2 separate regions of the Homo sapiens genome follow, and region 1 is linked to region 2. Evidence: promoter capture Hi-C in 16 types of primary human blood cells and fetal thymus (Javierre and others, 2016). All regions are on one chromosome and are shown on one strand. The core of a region is centred on a gene start or on the middle of the fragment in contact, and the rest is flanking DNA. Distances in the headings are between cores, read along the strand shown. Region 1 overlaps DAZAP1 (DAZ associated protein 1). Region 2 holds the start of BSG (basigin (Ok blood group)).

Evidence for each region. The method cuts DNA at HindIII sites, captures the fragments that hold promoters and counts their contacts. A CHiCAGO score of 5 or more calls a contact.
Region 1: a fragment that was not itself captured here is called in contact with the fragment with the promoter of BSG in region 2 in 1 of 17 cell types (neutrophils); the score reaches 5.6 in neutrophils.

Annotation. Positions count from the first base shown.
Region 1 is chr19:1,413,505-1,418,464 of GRCh38, forward strand. It overlaps DAZAP1 (DAZ associated protein 1), which reads left to right. Exons shown (of 12, transcript NM_018959.4): 2 at 3,996-4,036; 3 at 4,700-4,866. Among named protein-coding and RNA genes, the nearest start is that of DAZAP1, 8.4 kb to the left of the region's middle. RefSeq lists enhancers at 2,430-3,023, 3,024-3,618. The HindIII fragment of the contact is 2,921 bases long and covers 99-3,019 here.
Region 2 is chr19:568,501-574,211 of GRCh38, forward strand. BSG (basigin (Ok blood group)) reads left to right here and starts at 4,096. Exons shown (of 9, transcript NM_001728.4): 1 at 4,096-4,201. The coding sequence starts at 4,135. It overlaps BSG-AS1 (BSG antisense RNA 1), which reads right to left and starts at 3,748. Exons shown (of 3, transcript NR_184018.1): 1 at 3,609-3,748; 2 at 2,940-3,096. RefSeq lists enhancers at 2,344-2,916, 2,997-3,046 and silencers at 3,867-4,086, 4,257-4,436. The HindIII fragment of the contact is 7,021 bases long and covers 1-5,711 here.

The DNA of each region.
Region 1 (4,960 bases), core at 309-2,808, 840 kb after region 2:
TGCTTTCCGGGACTTCCCGGAGGCTTCTGTCTGTAGACCAGGGAGAAGGTGTTCGCCGGTGGCTCCTGAGTGGTAGTAAAAGACACATGGACACAGGAAGCTTTAGCGTTAGAAGCTGCTCTCAAATATCTCAACAGAAACACACAGTGTGGCCGCGCGCGGTGCCTCACGCCTGTCATCCTAGCACTTTGGGAGGCCGAGGCGGGCGGGTCACCTGCGGTGGGGAGCTCCAGACACAGCTATGTGAAACGAAAGCTATCTGTTGCTGTCTCAGATTCCATAAGGACTGAGACTTGTTTCAAAAGAAACTGAAATTCTGTCTTGTTCTCAGTAATGAAAGTCTTTTATACCATAATTGTATATATAACTTCTGACTTACAGGAAAATTACAAAAATTCCCATATCCTCTTGGCCCTGCCAGACTCACCATTGGCTGACATTTTACCCTTTGGCACGTGGTGCCTCTTGCCCCACCCCCAGTGAACTGTGTGTGTGTGTGTGTGTGTGTGTGTGTGTGTGTGTGTGTGTTTAGATGGACCCTCACTCTGTCGCCCAGGCTGGAGTGCAGTGGCTTGATCTTGGCTCAGTGCAACCTCCGCCTCCCGGGTTCAAGCAGTACACCTCGAGCTCAGCCTCCCGAGTGGCTAGGATTACAGGTGCGCACCACCGAGCCCAGCTAATTTTTGTATTTTTAGTAGAGATGGGGTTTTGCCATGTTGGCCAGGCTGGTCTCGAACTCCTGACCTCAGGTGATCCGCCCACCTCAGCCTTGCAAAGTGCTGGGATTACAGGCGTGAGCCAGTGCACCCATCCCCACTGTGTGTGTTTCTACTGAAATATTTGAGAGTAGCTGGAGACCGATGCAGTCCCCTTTATGTGTACACTGAGATATCTATTGTTTCCCAAGAACAATGACATTCTCTCACATGAACACAGCACAGTGATCAAAATTGAGAAAGTGGCCGGGCGCAGCTACTCACGCCTGTCATCCCAGCACTTTGAGAGGCCGAGGCTGGTGGATCACGAGGTCAAGAGATTGAGACCATCCTGGCCAATATGGTGAAACCCCGTCTCTACTAAAAATACAAAAATTAGCTGGCGGGCGCCTGTAGTCCCAGCTACTCGGGAGGCTGAGGCAGGAGAATCGCTTGAACCCGGGAGGCGGAGGTTGCAGTGAGCTGAGATCGCGCCACTACACTCCAGCCTGGGCAACACAGCGAGACAATTTTTCAAAAAAAAATTGAGAAAGTATTTATTATTTTTTAAAATTGTATTTGAGTATTTTTTATTTTTTTAATTTTATTTAAGAGTATTTTTTATTTTTTTTTTAATTTTATTTAAGAGATGAGATCTCTGTCACCCCTGCTGGAGTGCAGTGACACAATCACGGCTCACTGCAGCCTCGACCTTGACTCAAACGATCCTTCTGCCTCAGCCTCCCAAGTAGCTGGGACTACAGGTGCCTGCCACCACCTGGAGTCTCGTTACGTTGCCCAGGCTGGTCTTGAACTCCTGGCCTCCCGTAATGCTGTGATTATAGGCGTGATCTGCGCCCAGCTGAGAAAGACAGTACTGATACCAGGTTATCTAACCCCCCCGGCCCTGTTTCAGGTTTCTCAGCTGAGCGTTTCTAGCCCTTCCCCCTTAATACACAATTTTTGAAATTTAAATGAAGACCGAAACTGGACTGGTCTGACGAGTTCCTTCTGCCAGTGAGGTGGGGGTGGAGGGGGTACTGGGCTGCTTGGAGGACACCTGCCTGTTACCTGGCTGTTGGGTGGGTGCAGTGCTGACTACAGGCTGCTGTTTCTTCAAGTGACTTGGATTTGGTTTGGTTTTCAGGGTTTTATGTGTGTGTGTGTGTGTGTGTGTGTGTGTGTGTGTGTTTTGTTTTTTTTTTTTTTTTTGAGAACTGCTTGAACTTTAATTCCAAAGGATTGTGTAAATGAGCATTTTTCCGGTCGGTTCCAGCCAGGCTTGGGGGCCCTTCCTTCATGGGGTGGGGGCTGCTGCTGGCTCCTGCTGGGTGCCGGGCCCTGCTGGCAGGGATGTGGGCGGGGCTGGCCCTGACTCAGCGCGGGCACAGCCTATGGAGAGTGAGGCACAGCCTATGGAGAGTGAGGCACGCGGAGGCCTCGCTCCTCCCACGGTCTCTAGGCCTGACCTCAACGCTCCCTGGCCTGATTGCGAAGGGTGCGTGGGAGACGTAGGATTTTAAGTTAATGAGGCCTCAACCTAAGCCTGTTGCTGTTGCGTGATCAGCATGGTTTTCCCTGAAATTTGCCTTTTCAGATCTCGTCTCTAAGGGTCAGGAAGCACAGGGCGGCTGGCACACCCCGCCTCTAATTCTTCCCGCCTCAGCCCTCCCCACCGAAGAACGGGGCTGGGGGGTTGCTTGTTGACGTTTTGAAGACGGCAGTGGGTGCCTTTCCTGTGGTGGGAACATGCTTTGTTTTTCACACACTAAATTTAAATCAGTCGTTCTTAGGGAAAAAAGAAGGAACAGGGACAAGCTCCTGGCGGTTGGCTGTGGCAGACACTTCACCAGGGGCTGACTCGCGGGGGCTGAGTGTACAGGCCCCAGGTGGTGGTTGATGAGAGGTGATGAGTGTGCCAGCCACCTTGCAGGGGTCTTTCCTGGCGAGCTGGCAGGAGCAGGGAGGAGCACGTTGCTCCTGCTGCTGGTGGGGCAGTAACGTGTTCAACCTGACAGCGACGTTTTTGCTGAAAGCCGAAGCCAAGGGTGGTGTGGTTGGCCGTCAGGGATACAGGGCCCCGCGTGGGAATGGTGCTTTCAGTGAGGCTGGCAGGATTCTTGCGGCTCAGGTGGGAGCTTTGGCCTGCACGGTGTTTTGCTCTCTGGAGACCAAGGGTGATGATGGTGCTGGCACTGAGTCACAGCTGAGATTCAGCTCAGGGACTTCATTTCTGAATGCGTGTCCTCTTTCCCAGGGAAAGCAGGCAGGATGGGAGAGTCGCCGATAGAACCACCTCTTCCCTGCCTCCTGGGCTTGGGGGAAGCTTGAATGACATCTAAGGCCCCGTGCCTGGGTAAGCCTTGTGGTGTCTCAGACATGCCCAGTGGGTGCCATGGCTGACTCAAGGTGGCACAGTCCCCATTGGGAGTTGGCACAGTCCCCATTGGGAGTTGGCACAGCCAAGGCCCTGGGGCCACCTGGAGCGGCAGTGAGGTGGAAAGGTGAGTGGGCCCTTGGGCGTCGCTGCAGGGTCGATGGCGGACGCCTTGGGAGAGCTCCAGCTCTTCTGCCCGGAGGAGACAGCCCCAGGACGGGGGTGGCGCGGGTCTTTGGTGGGGGCAGGCAGGAAGTGCCAGTGCTGAGACTGAATTTCAGGCCCTTCTCATCTGCCAATAAGAGACAGCCCCAGAATGGGGGTGGCGCGGGTTTGTCGGGGGTAAGTAAGTGGGGCCAGTGCTGAGACTGGAGCTTCAGGGCCTTCACCTTCATCTGTGGGCCTCTCGTTAGTTCGTGAGTGCAGGCTCATTGGGAGGCTTCTGTCTGTGTCCCCCCACCCCCGCCCCAGGCTGTAATTCAGAGGCCGTGTGGCATAGGCTTCTAGTTTACTGTGCATCATTTCAGATGTAGACTTCTACATTCTTTTTCCTGATTATAAAATACTCGCAAAAGCTGTAGGAAAGCGAGCCTGTGTCCCACTTGGCAGCAGTGCAGGTGAGCGTGGTGCCGTCACCACTGGCCTGTCCCAGGAACTCATCGCCCGCCACGCATGAGGTCAGCGTGCGGCTCTGTGGCACGGTCCTCTCCCCATGGCAAGGATTGGGATCATCTTTCATGTCTGCAGACAGCATGGGCGAGGCTGACTCGCCATTGCTGTGAGCTTTGTATGCCGTCACGTGCACAAGGACGTTTGCGTCAGCTGCTTCTGTGGTTTGAATTAAGACCTCAGCTTGGCTTGGATGGGGGCATTTCTAAGGCGAGCGCTGTCTTGATCCTGAATGTTTTCTCATTGAATCGCAGGAAGCTCTTCGTGGGCGGTCTTGACTGGAGCACGACCCAAGGTAGGTGGGGAAGGGGTGTCAGGTGGGTACTGCAGATGGGCTCTAGGACCTCGGCCTTCAAGTTGTGTCTGCCCGCCTCTTGCTACTGTCTTGGATATTTTAAAGTCCTTTTGACGTTGTTCTGATTTCTGGGCAGGGGACAGAGTAAGTGTGTATTTGCTCTGAGACTGTTAATTTGGTATTTCCATCCCAAGTTACAGGGAAGACCTCAGGCTGCAGGTTCCTAGCTCCGGGCTGAGGTGGCTTGTGGAGGCAGACAGCTGTTGTCTGGAAGTGCAGAGGGCTGGGGGCTGGCCAGGCTGTTACTGAGTTCAGAATAGGAGGAAAGAGTGTGTAGCAAAGTCGGCGCTCCTTGGCCACTGCCAGCATTCAGAGTTGTCTTGTTTGCCTTGCCTTAAACGTTGCCTTCCTGGACGCCTACAAAGTCAGGTTGTAACCGCTGGCCACTGCTGTGCTCACTGGCAGCCCCTGATTTACGTGAGGACCTCAAGTGTGTGTTGGGCAGAATTCCCCAGCGCTTCCCGTACACCCCCCACCCCCAGTGCAGCATCGCTCGGTGCGTGGCTGGTGGACTGGAGGAGTGTGCGTGCCGGCAGCACTGCCAGGCACGTGCCTAATGCTCTGGCCCTGTGTGTTTGTGTTTTCTTCCCGATTTCTGAGCAGAGACTCTGCGCAGCTACTTTTCCCAATATGGAGAAGTCGTAGATTGTGTTATCATGAAAGATAAAACCACCAACCAGTCTCGAGGCTTTGGGTTTGTCAAATTTAAAGACCCAAACTGTGTGGGGACGGTGCTGGCCAGCAGACCGCACACGCTAGATGGCCGAAACGTAAGTGCCCTTCCGGGAGCTCACACCCGCTCTCTGTCTCCCCTGTCCTTCCTCTGCTTCATTTTTTCCTGGACTCTGACCGATGTTTGCGTTA
Region 2 (5,711 bases), core at 2,846-5,345:
ATGTTGGTCAGGCTGGTCTCCAACTCCTGACCTCAGGTGATCCGCCTGCCTTAGCCTCCCAAAGTGCTGGGATTACAGGCCTGAGCCACCACGCCCGGCCTAGGAGCTGTAAAATTTCTTCTTTGTATTTTATTTCTTTGCCCCCAGCAGTTAAAAGTTCTCTTTCTTGGCTGGGCGTGGTGGCTCATGCCTGTAATCCCATCACTTTGGGAGGTGGAGGCAGGCGGATCACTTGAGGTCAGGAGTTCAAGACCAGCCTGGCCAACAAGGTGAAACCCCGTCTCTACTAAAAGTACAAAAATTAGCCAGGCGTGGTGGCGCGTGCCTGTAGTCCCAGCTACTCAGGAGGCTGAGGCAGGACAATCGCTTGAACCTGGCAGGTGGAGGTTGCAGTGAGCCGAGATCGCACCACTGCACTCCAGCCTGGGCAAAAGAGTGAGACTCCATCTCAAAAAAGAAAAAAAAAGTTCCTCTATGGGATGGTCTTTCCAATTTTCTTTTTTCTTTCTTTCTTTTTTTTTTGAGACGGAGTCTCGCTCTGTCGCCCAGGCTGGAGCGCAGTGGTGCGATCTCGGCTCACTGCAAGCTCCGCCTCCTGGGTTGAGGCCATTCTCCTGCCTCAGGCTCCCGAGTAGCTGGGACTACAGGCGCCCCCACCACGCCCGGCTAATTTTTTTGTATTTTAGTAGAGATGGGGTTTCACCGTGTTAGCCAGGATGGTCTGGATCTCCTGACCTCATGATCCGCCCACCTCAGCCTCCCAAAGTGCTGGGATTACAGGCGTGAGCCGGCAGCTGCATATTTTCTTATCTGTTTATTAAGTCTGTTTAAGAATTCCACGGGCCTGGCCAGGCGCGGTGGCTCACGCCTGTAATCCCAGCACTTTGGGAGGCCGACGTGGGCAGATCACAAGGTCAGGAGATCGAGACCATCTTGGCCAACATGGTGAAACCCTGTCTCCACTAAAATACAAAAAATTAGCCAGGCGTGGTGGCGGGCGCCTGTAATCCCAGCTACTTGGGAGGCTGAGGCAGGAGAATCGCTTGAACCCGGGAGGCGGAGGTTGGAGTGAGCTGAGATCGCGCCACTGAACTCCAGCCTGGGCGACAGAGCGAGACTCTGTCTCCAAAAAAAACCCCATGGGCCCTTCATGTTTCCTCTGTTGTACGTTAAATGCTCGGGAAGTATTTTGGGTTTGCAGATCTGATTCCCGAATCCTTGTAATTATCCCATCTCCGAGATCGCTCATGTTTTTTAGGTCACATTGTCATCCCACCCAGGATCTTGGGCCAGGAATTTACGCTCCGCTGAAAGGACGTTCTGACCGGGGGGTGTTCACGCTCCCAGACTAACACAGCGGCCTGTGAATCATGGTTCTCTCTCTCCTGAGACGAGAGTACTGAGGGTAGACATTAATTCAGCCCAAGCGTACAGCTGTGGCCCCAGAAATTGGTCAATTTGATCCGCGAATCCAAAAGGGTCATCTAACAGTGGTTTGAGTTCTTTTAGATTTCTAACCTCTGAACTGGTTAAAGGGGGCATTTACGAAGTCAATATCCCTTCCTCCCGGTGGTCCTTCCCTAAAGGGGAAAAGGGCTGAGGCAGGTCTTTTTGAGCAGGAGGCAAAAGGAAAGTTCTGTGGGTTTTTGTTTGTTTGTTTGTTTTTTGAGACGGAGTCTCGCTCTTGTTGCCGAGGCTGGAGTGCGGTGGCGCGATCTCGGCTCACTGCAAGCTCCACCTCCCGGGTTCAAGACATTCCCTGCCTCAGCCTCCCGAGTAGCTGAGTAGCTGGAATTACAGGCGCCCGCCACCACGTCCGGCTAATTTTCGTATTTTTAGTAGAGGCGAGGTTTCATCATCGTGGCCAGGCTGCCAGTCCTGAACTCCTGGCCTCGTGATCCACCCGCCTCTGCCTCCCAAAGTGCTGGAATTACAGGCGTGAGCCACCGCGCCCGGCCGAAAGTTTCGAATATCCCTTTGGCATTGTTCTGTTTCCCGTTGGAGCTTTCCTGAGGAAGGGGCATGTTCTAGTGGCTGTCCAGCGGGGATGTGGGTGGCAAGGTCCAGGTGGTTCTATAGGGGAGGGATGGAGGGGCGGAGGAGCGGGTGGGGGAGGGGCGGAGGGGCGAGGGGTGGGTGGGAGGGGCGGAGGGGCGGGTTGGGGAGGGGCGGAGGGGTGGGGTGGGTGGGTGGGGGGGGCGGAGGGGTGGGTTGGGAGGGGCGGAGGGGGTGGGTTGGGAGGGGCGGAGGGGGTGGGTTGGGAGGGGCGGAGGGGGTGGGTTGGGAGGGGCGGAGGGGGTGGGTTGGGAGGGGCGGAGGGGTGAGTGGGGGAAGGTGGTCTAGAGGATCCCACCCTTCTTTAGATATGGGGCGTCTCTGCTAAAAATACAAAAATTAGCCGGGCGTGGTGGTGCGCGCCTGTAATCCCAGCTACTCAGGAGGCTGAGGCAGGAGAATCGCTTGAACCCGGGAGGCGGAGGTTGCAGAGAGTCGAGATCGCGCCGCTGCACTCCAGCCTGGGTGACACAGCGAGACTCCAACACACACACACACAAAAGATATGGCGCGTCTCATTCATTCACAAGTTCCTCTTCAAAGGTTTGGCTCGTTCAGCGCCCTCGTTCTTCGTTTCCTACTTCCAAGGCCAACCTGACTTCCTCACCCTCTGGGCCTCCCCGTCTGAGTCTCAGTAAACAAGTTTCCCGCCGGTCCTGATCTGCAGAGATGGCACCTGCCACCCACTCTGCACATCCCCCTCCCGTCGCCACGGGCTCTTCCCGCCAGTGTAGCCACATTCCTGCCCCTTTCCAGTTAGCCCTTCGCGTTCGGCTTAGTCTGCGGTCCTCTTGCATTGCGACTCCGAGTTTAACTTCCAACACACACTTTCAACCTCCAAGAGACGCCCCCACCTGTGTCGCCCCAATAGCGACTTTTCTCACCGTGGTCGCCGCGGAACTTCAAGGGTCCTTCCTACCCGCGTTGCTGAGAGTCTGGGTTTACGCGTCACCTCGGGCGGGACCCGATCCTCCGCTCCTGAGGCCCCCACAATGAAGCAGTCGGACGCGTCTCCCCAAGAAAGGTAACCGCCAGCCTCTCCTGAAACAGAATGGGATCCAAATGGGATATTTGGGGGCGGCGAGTCGGTCCCGCAAAGAGAAACCAGCACTTAGAAAATTTCTCAGCGAGACCACTTTACTTGTACGGAAGGGGGCTGCCTGCGTGGGATGCAATCTCCAGAGCACACGGGACAAAGGAAGGGAGCTTCTGTTCCTCTGTCCTTTCCCTGTTGGCTGGGGTTGGACGCCCACAATCTAAGCTGATCCCGGTTGGCTAAAACTTAAAACTTTTTTAAAATAGGGTAAACGCGCCACCTGCGAGGAAAGAAGAAGGGGGTAAGGTTGATTGACAACTTTAGACCTGGAAGTTGAGTTTCTGAAGAGGAACTTACTTGTCCCAACCAAATGGTGCACAGGACGTTTATACTAAGAAATTATTCATTTTCTGAGATCCAGATTCAAGTGCCCTTTAAGTATTTTTATTTGGGCGGAGGAGGTCACTTCCTCCCACCTAATTTATTAATACGTTCATATATATATATATATATGTACATTTTTAAAGGCAGAGATGTGCGTCTCGCCATGTTGCCGCGTCTGGTCTCGAGCTCCCGGGCTCAAGCGATCTTCCCGCCTCGACCTCCCAAGGCTCTGGGAGTACAGACGTGAGCCACAGCGGCCGGCCCGTGTTTAACTCAGATAAAATCTGGGTAACACACTTTCAACGCTTCAACCCCCTCGGGCGCACCGCTCTGCGCTCATTGCAACTTTGAAAGCAGGAAGGAAGAAATGCGCAGGCTCCAGCCGCGTCCCCGCAGGCCCCACTCCCGTTTCCTAGCAACGCCGGGTCACGTGCGCCGCCGCCCGGATTCCGTAGCGTGAGCCTGCCGGAGCCGGCGCGTACATGCGAGCGTGTGCGCGCGTGCGCAGGCGGGGCGACCGGCGTCCCCGGCGCTCGCCCCGCCCCCGAGATGACGCCGTGCGTGCGCGCGCCCGGTCCGCGCCTCCGCCGCTTTTTATAGCGGCCGCGGGCGGCGGCGGCAGCGGTTGGAGGTTGTAGGACCGGCGAGGAATAGGAATCATGGCGGCTGCGCTGTTCGTGCTGCTGGGATTCGCGCTGCTGGGCACCCACGGAGCCTCCGGGGCTGGTGAGGAGCGGGTAGGGGGCGGGGGTGCGGTCCTGCAGGGGCCGGGAATGGAGGCCGCGGTGCCGACCCGAAGCCGACGGGAGCCTGGGGCCTCGGCGCGGGGCGGCCTGGGGTGCGAAAGGCCGGCCCCGGGGGCTTCCCGCGCCAGCATGGAGCTTGGGGGTGAAGTCCCAGGGTTTGAGGGGGGACTAGAGGTTCCTCCCGGCGCGGCCTGCCGGGCTCCCCCGGGCGCTCCGGCCTCGAGCCCGGCCTCTGTGTGTGGGCGTGAAGCTCCCTGCTTGGAGGCGGGAGCCAGGGGGTCCTGGCCAGGCCGGTCTTGGTCAGGGGAGGTGGGCGTCTTGCTTTTCGGTCACCTGGGGTTGGGGGTGACCTGCTTCCTGGGTGAGGGCGTCTGCGAAGGCGGTTGGAGGTGGCCCGCCCGCCGGTCCCATCGGCCAGGAGAAGGGAGACCCAAAGCCTGGGTGAGCGTCCCCTTTGGCCTGGAGCCAGGGGTCAGGGGCTGGTTGGTGCCTGCCCAACCCGTCCTGCTGGGGCTGGACTCCGCAGGACCTGGGGAAAGCGGCCTGGGCGTGGAATCTGGAGACGGGTCCACCCTGCCTGCGAGTGTTAGGGTCAGAGACCCTCCCCTGAGACTCTCTGGGGCCCCCGCAAGGGCCCGTGCGGCCTGGAGCGATCATCTTGGCGCTCCCTTCTGGAAAAGGGGCTTTTGTCCTCCAAGAGCACATGGAGGCTCTGAGTGGGTCAGCCCTCCGGATCGGGAAGGGATTACCGTTCTTCACGGGATTTAGCCCTGGCGTCTTGCCTAGGGCGTGCACCTGCCCCCGGGTGTTCTCCCAGACTCTTAAGACCTCGCAGGCTCCCTCGAGGGGCCCTGCGTGGAAGGGAAGGCGGAATCTCCCTCTGATTCTGCCTGGATTCAGCACCCAGAATGAGGTGGTCTCTGAACGCCCCTCCTCCTTTACAGGCGAGGAAACAGCCCTGTGGGAAGTCGAGGTTCCAAGGTCACAGTGAGGGGGCCCTGGCCACCCGATTCAGCGCAGGAAATAGTGAGAAAGTCGTTTTTAGCCGACTCTGACCCGCATTCGGTTTCCAGTGCTGTCTTAGGAGGGCCGTGTGTTGAGGGTGGGCAAACGTGGTTTGGAGAGCGCATTTGGGAAATGGATTGAGGTGTGTTTTTCCGGGAGAAAAGCATGACATCCTTTCTTGCTTCATAGAAAATTTCTTCCTTTGTTGAGACCCCCATTTGGTTCTGGGTTAAAGATTTATAGTGAGGCCGGGCGTGGTGGCTCACACCTGTAATCCCAGCACTTTGGGAGGCTGAGGCGGGTGGATCACCTGAGGTCAGGAGTTCAAGACCAGCCTGGCCAACATGGTGAAACCCCATCTCTACTAAAAATACAAAAATTAGCTGGGCGTGTTGGCGCACGCCTGTAATCCCAGCCACTCAGGAAGCTGAGGCAAGAGAATCGCTTGAACCTGGGAGGTGAAGGTTGCAGTGAGCTGATATCAT